Linked DNA regions of Homo sapiens: all the other regions are linked to region 1. The links are contacts of gene promoters, found by promoter capture Hi-C in human tissues and cell types (Jung and others, 2019). All regions are on one chromosome and are shown on one strand. Each heading gives the region's core, a stretch centred on a gene start or on the middle of the fragment in contact. The rest is flanking DNA. Distances are from core to core; before and after follow the strand shown. Region 1 holds the start of CDC14B (cell division cycle 14B). Region 2 overlaps ZNF367 (zinc finger protein 367). Region 3 overlaps ZNF782 (zinc finger protein 782).

Region 1 (3,087 bases), core at 317-2,816:
TTTAAACAAATTACTCTCAAAAGATCATAATGTCATGGAGGTAGTTTCTCTGTACTTCCAGGGAGCCACACGGACCACTCTCCTGTAATATCTATTCAAAACAAGACCCACTCATTTAAAATCCCTGGTAGTCTGGGAAACTGGGTGGCTTTCCAATGCTGAGCCCCTAGGCCGGTCTGAAAGGTCTCCTCCTCCTCCTCCAGGTCAAAACAAAGGACTGTGACCCTACCGTTTCTGCTCTCTAAAACTTACTTGCGCAGCGCCGCACAGCCTCCCACGTCTCTAGCTTCTTTGCTGCCCCTACAGACAGACATGTAGATCATTTTAAATTTAAGGCCTTCACTGATTTCCTTAGGGGAAACAGAGGAAGAGTGAACAGGAGAACCAACCTTAAGAAAAAGTGCTTACAGAGTTGCTGATCTCTAGCTTCAGACACAGCCCCCCTACTTCCTTATTTAGCCGTGCTTAAGGTAAAAGCCCACAACAATAGAAGTCAAAGAGCCCCTTCCTGAGGTGCTCTATGAAAATTTGCATTTCTGAGAGGCTTCCAAGGGGACTGACTCAAATTCATCTTTCTTTTCCCCAGGCTGGCAGTTAACTGCGGAACTGCAGGATAAAACGTTCAAGTGCTGGTGAAAAATAGGGACAGCTTGCAGATGTTGTAAAATTTGGGGCCGTGAAATCTTAACACTGCCCTCCAATCTTCTCACCCTTTTAGATGCTACCATGGACGTTTGTTTAAAGGCCCTCCAAAATGACAGTTTTTGGTTAAGTTCCAGGAAGATAGGGCATTATTTTAATCCAGTAGAAAAAGAAGAGGATATGACCCTACAGTGTGCCAGATAAAGAAGTTTAAGGACAAAACTTGCCCCTTGCTTCAATACTTCATGATATAATCGGACCTGTCGACACCTCAGTATACACAGCAATGAGTGTATAAACTTACTGAATTAATGTGGGCGCTGGATTCCGAGATGAGAAACTCTGAGGTGCAAACAACCACGGTATATTGTGGTTCCACGGAAGTTTCATCGGGTCCTTAAGAAGCCCTTGCTTGGCCTGTTTGAATGCTGGGCATAGGTCGATAAATAGAGCGTAGTTGTTTAAATAGTTTTACTTAAGTTCTGAAATCAACTCTACTTTAAATCTATATAGCTGCAGGTAATGTAATCAGGCCATCCTCTTCCAAGCTGGCAGCCATGGCAAAAGTCCCTTTCTCTTGGCGCGAATTACAAGGAAATTCAAGAAATACTTTAAGATATATATATGCCAAAGACCTGGAGTTAAGTTACTAGGGTGGGGCTGTGTAAATGTTTGGTGACTCACTAAAGAAAGTTGGGATCTGGGGTGCTGGCACCTGGAGGACACAGAAGAAACAAAAGTTGGGGGGCTGGCGAAGGTCGCTAGCACACTTTATCTCTGATTGGCGGAAGCCCTCAGAGTTTTCTTTATGGCGTCACCGAGTACCTGCCTGTAGAAAGGCCCCGTCTCCGTGACGTCACGCCGCATTGGCCAATGAAAGGCCTCAGTCTGCGGGCCCCGAGGAGGGTTGTGGGCCCTTTTTTGTGAATGAAGCGCCACGGAACAGCCCTCCTGGGGTCCCCACGAGCCGCGTCCTGCTGTGCCCCGGCGCCTACGCAGCAGCGGCCGCGGCCGCGGTGGGCACGCACGGTTACCCCGGGCAGCTCCGGCCGCCAGCTGCAGCCCCGTCGCCTCGGCCGCGCCAGCCGGCTGCGGGCACCTGGGGGCGGGCTGGGGGCGCCGGCCGCGGCAGGAGGCGCTGTAGCGAGGGCTGCGGCGCCGGTCCTGCGGCGGCCGCGGGAGGCAGCGGGGCAGGCGCTGTGGGCCGGGCTCCTCCTCCGGCTCCTGCGCGACCGCCTCCCGCCGGGCTCTGCCGGCGCCCGCCGTCCCCGCAGCGCCGCTCTGCGCCCGCCGCCCCGAGCGCCCGCGCGGGGCTGGCGGGAGCCTCGGCGGGCGCGCGGGCGCGCGGGGCCATGGTCGTGGCCCCCTGACGGGCCGCGGCCGCCTCCATGAAGCGGAAAAGCGAGCGGCGGTCGAGCTGGGCCGCCGCGCCCCCCTGCTCGCGGCGCTGCTCGTCGACCTCGCCGGGTGTGAAGAAGATCCGCAGCTCCACGCAGCAAGACCCGCGCCGCCGGGACCCCCAGGACGACGTGTACCTGGACATCACCGGTGAGCCGGCCAGTGGGCGCGCGGAGGGCCCCGGACGGCCGCACCCGGCGCGGGGCCCTGGCCCACCTCCCACCGGGCTGCCCGGGGCCTCCGGGGCCGGGCCGAAATGCCTTCGCCCCCACCCCCTTAAACGCCCCGGCCGCCACACCCCCTTTAGGAGCCTGGCTCCTGAGGAGCGCCCCCCGCCCCGAGTTTCTAGCTGCGTGGGCTGCGAGCTTTAACTTTAGCTTGTGCACCCTCCTCCACCAGCAAGATGGACCGAGGGTCACCTTTCTAAGTTGCGGGCGTCAGCCCGGCGCCTCGAACCTGCAGCTCCTCCCCGCGGGCTGCTTCTGAGTTCCTGTGGATTCCGCCTTCAGGGATTGCGAGCCCGGTTGGCCCTCGCGCGAGTCACAACCTCTGAATCAGCCCCTGAGGATTCCCCGAGCGCGCTGAACGCGCCTGGCACGGGAGCTGCCCCTTTTTGGCGTTGGCCAAACCCCCGCTGCTCCGTAGCCTTGGGACCCTGGGCGCCGCGTTGCCCGTCCGGCGCGTAAGCCCGAGCCCCTCTCCTGGGCCTCCCGCGCCCTGCCCCCTAGCGCGCCCCCCGAACGCCTCCGCCTCCCGGGGTCCGCTCCCCGCCGGGGCCTCGAGAAGGAAGGTGTCACGTTGGTGGCATTCGAGCCAGCCGGCAAGACGAATGTCCGGGTTGTCACTTTTGAGAAATCCCAGCCAGCCAGAGCAGGTAGCCAAGCAGCCCTTCGATAGCTGTTCTGTTAGTGCTGATTCGACTGTTCTTGGAGACTCATAAATCCAATTTGGCAGCTGTTAGGTTTGCTGGGATTGACAGTGACGCGTGTGAAGGCATTAAATGTGATGATGTATGTGGCAACGCTGTGTAAACAGCAGAGCTGTCCA
Region 2 (3,259 bases), core at 559-3,058, 210 kb after region 1:
TCCCCAAGTGTTGGGATTACAGGCGTGAGCCACCGTGCCTGGTCTATGGTTTTTTTTGTTTTTTTTTTTTTTTTTTGAGACGGAGTCTCTCTCTGTTGCCCAGGCTGGAGTGCAATGGTGCCATCTCGGCTCACTGCAAGCTCCGCCTCCTGGATTCACGCCATTCTCCTGCCTCAGCCTCCCGAGTAGCTGGGACTACAGGCACCCGCCACCACGCCCGGCTAATTTTTTGTATTTTTTAGTAGAGACGGGATTTCACCGTGTTAGCCAGGATGGTCTCGATCTCCTGACCGCGTGATCCACCCGCCTCGGTCTCCCAAAGTGCTGGGATTACAGGCGTGAGCCACCACGCCCAGCCAGGCCTATGGCTTTTTTTTTTGAGACAGAGTTTCACTCTGTCGCCCAGGCTGGAGTGCAGTGGTGCGATCTCGGCCACTGCAACCTCCGCCTCCCAGGTCCACGCCATTCTGCCTCAGCCTCCCGAGTAGCTGGGACTACAGGCGCCCGCCACTGCGCCCAGCTAATTTTTTGCATTTTTAGTAGAGACAGGGTTTCACCATGGTCTCAATCTCCTGACCTCGTGATCCACCCACCTCGACCTCCCAAAGTGCTGGGATTACAGGCGTGAGCCACCGCGCCTGGCCTGTGGTTTTTAATTGTCCTGATTTCATGTTCTGTTTCTTTCTTAACAGAATCAGCTCCTATTTTTATTGATCACAGATGCTATATTCTTTTATATTTATTTTGTACTTATTAAAACAATTATTCATGATATGACCATAACCAGCAATAATCCATGAAATTATTGTGGCTTAATAAATGATGGCAATGAAGATTTCACTCCTGTGTAGCTCCTTCTGTCTGACTCTGTGTTAATAATTTTAGCAAGCAAGACTTGAGCTATATGTGGCTACTGAGGATCACAGCCAAGGAGTAAAGAAGATGAAAGAATTTGATGACCACCAATCATGGCCAGAAGTTGATTTGTTAATTTGTACTTTAATAAGTCATGGTCCATTAGGATCTTGCTAATTCCTGTTTCATTATGCATGGGAATTTCTTGAGTAATTAAGTAAGGTTGATGAGCTTTTTGTTTCATCAACAGATATTCGTTACTAACCCACTGAGTCAGTTAGCTCAGGCTAAAAAGCAGGCTGCAGAATGCAACTTCAAGATGGCAATCTCAGCCTCAACATGGCTCATGTTATGTGTCCTGGGAGGGTTGACCACTGGTGTGCTCCACATTCTGTTCATTCTAGGATCCTGAAGGAATCTCTCCAAGCTGGGACAGATGGGTCTCAAAGCAGAGAGAAAACAGAGATGGTAGAACCGTATGTTGTATTAGTCCATTTTGCATTGCTATAAAAGAATACCTGAAGGTGGGTGATTTATGAGGAAAATAGGTTTATTTGGGTTGTAGTTCTGCAGGCTGTACCAGAGGCATGGCACCAGAATCTGCTTCTGGTGAGGGACCTCAGGGAGCTTCGAATCAAGGCAGAAGGCGAAGGGGAGCAGGTTTCACATGGTGAGAGAGGGAACAAGAGGGAGGGGAGGAAGTGACAGGCTTTTTTTAACAGTCAGATCTCATGGTAACAATATGAGCGAGCACAGCGTCTAGATGTTCATGAGGGATCTGTCTTTATGACCCAGACACGTTCCACTAGGCTCCGCCTCCAATACTGGGGATCAAATTTCAACATGAGATTTGGAGGGGACAAACATCCAAACTACACAGGCTATTTTCACTCACATTTTATTGGCCAAAGCAAGTCATATGGCTAAGTTGCACTCTGGACCCACAGTGAAAGGGGCAGTGAATGTTTTTGCAATAATATCTGCCACAGTGCCTTCTGACATTTTAAAAATTGTGGCAAAAACCCGATAATATTTTCTACCTTAACCATTTTTAAGTATACAGTACAGTAGTGTTGACTATATGTAAACGGTTGTGCAACAAGTCCCTAGAATTTATTCATCTTGTAAAACAAACTCTATACTCACTGAACTTGCCTTTCCCCCGCCCCTCTCTAGTCCCTGGCCACCACCACTCTTCTAAGAGTTTGATGACCTCAGATACCTCATATAGGTAAAATTATGCAGTATTTGCCTTTTTGTCACTGGTTTGTTTTACTTAGCATAATTTCCTAAAGGTTCATCCATGTTATGGCATATGGCAGGATTTCCATCTTTCTGAAGGCTGAGTAGTTTTCCATTGTTACTAACACACTGAGTTTGCTTAGGCTAAACTGTATATAGCACTATTTATCCATTCATCAGTCAGTGGACATTTGGGTTGCTATCGATTGTGAATAATGCTGCAATGAACACAGATGTGCAAATATGTCTTTGAGATTCTGTTTTCATTTCTTTTGTATATGTAGCCTTCCCACATTGTTTTTTAAAAAATATTTATTATTTATTTATTTATTATACTTTAAGTTCTAGGGTACATGTGCACAACGTGCAGGTTTGTTCCATATGTATACATGTGCCATGTTGGTGTGCTGCACCCATTAACTCGTCATTTACATTAGGTATATCTCCTAATGCTATCCCTCCCCGCTCCCGCCACCCCGCGACAGGCCCGGTGTGTGATGTTCCCCTTCCTGTGTCCAACGTTTATTTATTTATTTATTTATTTATTTATTTATTTATTTTGTGTTCCATTAAAACTTTATTTACAGAAACAGGCTATTTGCCAATATTTTAATCTATTAAAAATTACTCACGTTGGCCGGGCGCGGTGGCTCATGCCTGTAATTCCAGCACTTTGGGAGGCTAAGGCGGGCGGATCAGAGAGATCGAGACCATCCTGGCTAACACGGTGAAACCCCGTCTCATTGGCCTGATGAATCTTTCATATTTAGGTGGTTTTCTTGTAAAGCCATCTCCAACAAAGCACACGTTAGTAACTATCCTCTTCCATGCCTTCTTTCCTGTTCGAATAACTTTTAATACTTCTGCTTCTCCCTGGGCACGTACTTTAGGCAGAGGGACTTCCCATTTTCCCGCCTTCTCTTTTCGTTTCTGTTTAATCATATTGGAAAGTACTTTAGCTCGAGATTGTCCCTCTCTGTCCAGCAGATAGGCAGGTACTGCTCCCTGTGGAGTCTTTTCATCATTCTTTTGTTTGGTGTTTTTCTTTTCATGCATCTTTGATAGTCTTTTTTTCATTTATATTTTCTCAGCATGGCGCTGTTTATGTTAAAGCTTAGCCTTCAGACCAATCATTTTCTTTGCCTTCTTTGAACGTTCATGA
Region 3 (3,389 bases), core at 171-2,670, 230 kb before region 1:
CAAATACTCAGGGAGTGGATGTAGATGGAATCTTACCATGTGTCAAATGTAGTCTGGATTTCTGGTGTGTCTTCAGATCTCTTGGGTCAGACAGGTTCCTGGCCCCTTCTGCATTGTCAGGGTGTCTCTCTTTTAAGTCTGATGTAAAGAATTCTAAGAGTCAGATTTTTGCCACTAACATGGTTTCTCAGGTCAGGTCGCAGGCTCCTTGAACAGAGCAGCCCTTGCGAGGTGGGAAGCAGGGGTCTCTGTGAACAGTTTTACCTGGAAGAGAACACCTCTCAGACCTAGGCCTCCCTCCCGAGCTTCAGAGCAGAGGCAGAAGAGCCCACAGAGGAGCAGATCCTAGATGTGTATGGTCAGAAGCAGTTCTTGATCCTCCTTCCCAGAATGAGCCAGACTTGGTGAAGCCTCCAGAAGCCACCACACAATGGGTGACAGTGGGTGGTTTGGGCCAGCTTTGAGAAGAGCAAAATGGGCTAGGTGGTGGCCAGGGACAGGCTGCTCAGGAAAGGCCACATCATTGCATAGGTCTGAGGGTAGGGGTAACCGGAGATTCTGTCCCCAGATCCCAAAGTAGCCCCCAGTCGCTTTGTTCTCCACTCTTTACAGATGCCATACTGCTGTTAACATATGTGACACTGGAGACTTTGTCCCTACCTCATAGAATCCCATGCATGATGATACATGAAGGGTTTTCCGTGGCTATCTACTTCTGATTCTTTTGAAAGCTTTAAAGACATTGGGCATGAAAGGTTCAGTGAGTTTCCGGGGATCCCTCGTTTGTGGTAGAGCCAGGAGGAAAACAGTTCCGTTCATTCTTTCACAGGTGAGTCACCAAAAGCATCTTATCCAAAGGGCCTTTTGAGAAATACATCCCAGTTAAAACATCTAAAACTCTTTGCCTTAAAGTATCTCATCTCTTTTATAAGACTTTCTGTGGATTGTCTATACCAAGGGTAAATAATATTACTAAGAAAAATAGTTAAATGATGCACACTGAATATTTTTCTGCTAAGTTAATTTTGTGTTTTGGAGACAGAGTCTCATCCTGTTGTCCAGGCAGGAGTGCAGTGGCACAAACATGGCTCACTGCAGCCTCTACCTCCTGGGCTCAAGTGATCCTCCTGCCTCAGCCTCCCAAGTAGCAGGGACCACAGGCGCATGCCACCACACCTGGCTAATTTTTTAAGTTTTTATTTTCTGTAGAGACAAGGTCATGCCATGTTGCCCAGGTTGGTCTTGAACTCCTGAGCTCAAGCTGTCCTCCCTCTTTGGCCTCCCGAAGTGCTGGGGTTACAGGCTTGAACCACAGTACCTGCTAGGTTAATTTTAATGAAAGAATAGTGTCTTACCCTGTGGTGTACTTTAATTCAACTAATCCTGTATTGTCTTTATTTTTGTGTGTGTGTTAGAAGCACATGTGCATTGTTAAATCAATTGGGAAAAGTTTATGTTCACTCAATAAAAAACAGCAGTTTAAGCCCCATAATTATTTCAGAGTTGTCGTAGACAGTGCCACCTCTACGTGGTGCTTCTCATGCCTTTTCAAGGCCTGAAGGGCCCTGTTACCTTAGGAAGGCTGCTCTCCAACTGGGTTGCTGAGATTTGGGGAGGCTAATCTAGGAGCTGTGAGGTAGGCGAGACCGTGTGACATCCTCTTTCTGTCCCCCCAGCTGAGGCTTTACAGTTCTCTATACTCTCCCAAGAGCCACAGAAAATGAACACATTTCAGGTAAGCTTTTTATTCATTCCCCACTTTGTATTGTAATGGATTTTATGAGGTTTAGATAGGCCCTTGCATTAAATGGAAAAGGAGAAATAGATAAGTAAATCTTGAGGGAAAATATATACAGTTTCACCATGAACTCTGCTGTCAGCTTTGTCAGGGTTAGTAGGTTCCCTCCAGTTACCAGTTTGCCAAGATGTCATGTTAGTCATGAATGCACATGAATTATATTAAATACTTTTTATGTATCAGAATAAATCTATAGCTGTGTCCTTGAATCTGTAAATATTGTGAATAATATAATGGATTTTCTAAAAGTAACTTGAATTCCTGTATAGACCCTAGTTGCTAATGAGTGTAGTAAGTTGCTTCTTACATGTTTTCCTAGCACTTTATGGTAATAATTTAGGATTTTTATTTCTGTGTTCACAAATTGGATTAAACTATACTTTCCTGTTTCCCTGTTCAGTTAGGGTATCATGGTTGTCTCATGAAAGGAAATGGGGCACTTTTTCTTGTTTCTTCTTTTCTAATAATTTAGAAAAATGAGAACATTGTGTTATATGTAGATTTTATGAAACTCACCTATGAATTTGGACCTTGCGAAGACTTTTTGTGTGAAGATTTTGATTATTGAATAAATGTATTAGTTCATTAGTCAGCTTCTTATAAGCTTATACTGGAGTTGTACTTTTTCAATATAATTTTTGTCATTACATTTTCATAGAAAATTGTAATCATTTACTTTTTTTATTTTTTTTTAGATTTAGTAAATGTTTATTGTTGGTTAACCATTATCAAACAAGATTTTTCTTTGTCAGTATGCATTAAGTTATAGATGTACAGAGAGACAAGGTATAAACCAAGAGAAAAATAAAATGAGATACTAAGATATTTTATTTTAAAAACCACCTTGCATACACAAATTATAAAAATTTATAATTTTCACACCGCTTTACCATCCTTGTGCTAATATACTTTAACACTGAAGATGCAACTTGCCTACTTACTTAGCACTTTACTTAGATATATTTATTAAGATGCAAAAGTTTTCATAATATTGTATGTTTACTAAAACTGGAAAGATTTTTCAATTTTAATACAAAACGTATTTGAAATTTTCAACTAAGATTCTGAACATTTTACTTTTACATTTTATTTTATGTATTTTACTACCCAGGGTCTAAAAGAAGTCAAGACAGGCCTTAACTAAAATGAAAGAGCAAGACTAAAATAATCATAATAAATGCTGTCTTTTCTTTATACTTTAAAACATTTCTTTAAAATGTTTTATTTCAATAGCTTTTGGGGTACAAGTGGTTTCTTGTTACATGGATGAATTATATAGTGGTGAATTCTGAGATTTTAGTTCACCCGTGGTCTGACAAGTAGTGTACATTGTGCCTTATAGGTAGTTTTTTATCCCTAGCACCTTTCCCTAGCCTCCCACCCTCCCCTTCTTGGTCTCTAAAGTCCATTATGTCACTCTGTATGCCTTTGCATACTCATAACTTAGCTCCCACTTATAAGTGAGAACGTACGGTTTGGTTTTCTACTCCTGTGATACTTAGAATAACAGCCTCCAGCTCCATCCAAGTTGCTGCAAAAGACATTATTTCATTCCTTTTTATGGCTGAGTAGTATTCCATGGTGTATAGGT

What was found. Contacts are between HindIII fragments. The study calls those that stand out against the background at their distance.
Region 2: a contact is called between a fragment that was not itself captured here and the fragment with the promoter of CDC14B in region 1, in 1 of the 25 tissues and cell types used here (aorta).
Region 3: a fragment that was not itself captured here is called in contact with the fragment with the promoter of CDC14B in region 1 in 1 of the 25 tissues and cell types used here (hippocampus).

What each region holds. Positions count from the first base shown.
Region 1 is chr9:96,618,322-96,621,408 of GRCh38, reverse strand. It overlaps CDC14B (cell division cycle 14B), which reads left to right and starts at 1,566. Exons shown (of 14, transcript NM_033331.4): 1 at 1,566-2,190. The coding sequence starts at 2,031. RefSeq lists an enhancer at 1,915-2,415. The HindIII fragment of the contact is 32,033 bases long and covers 1-3,087 here.
Region 2 is chr9:96,407,379-96,410,637 of GRCh38, reverse strand. The region is part of intron 1 of ZNF367 (zinc finger protein 367); the gene reads left to right. It also overlaps the pseudogene NSA2P7. Among named protein-coding and RNA genes, the nearest start is that of ZNF367, 9.4 kb to the left of the region's middle. The HindIII fragment of the contact is 3,941 bases long and covers 1-3,259 here.
Region 3 is chr9:96,850,293-96,853,681 of GRCh38, reverse strand. ZNF782 (zinc finger protein 782) reads left to right here. Exons shown (of 6, transcript NM_001001662.3): 2 at 613-829; 3 at 1,677-1,735. The coding sequence starts at 1,721. Among named protein-coding and RNA genes, the nearest start is that of ZNF782, 2.5 kb to the left of the region's middle. The HindIII fragment of the contact is 3,556 bases long and covers 1-3,198 here.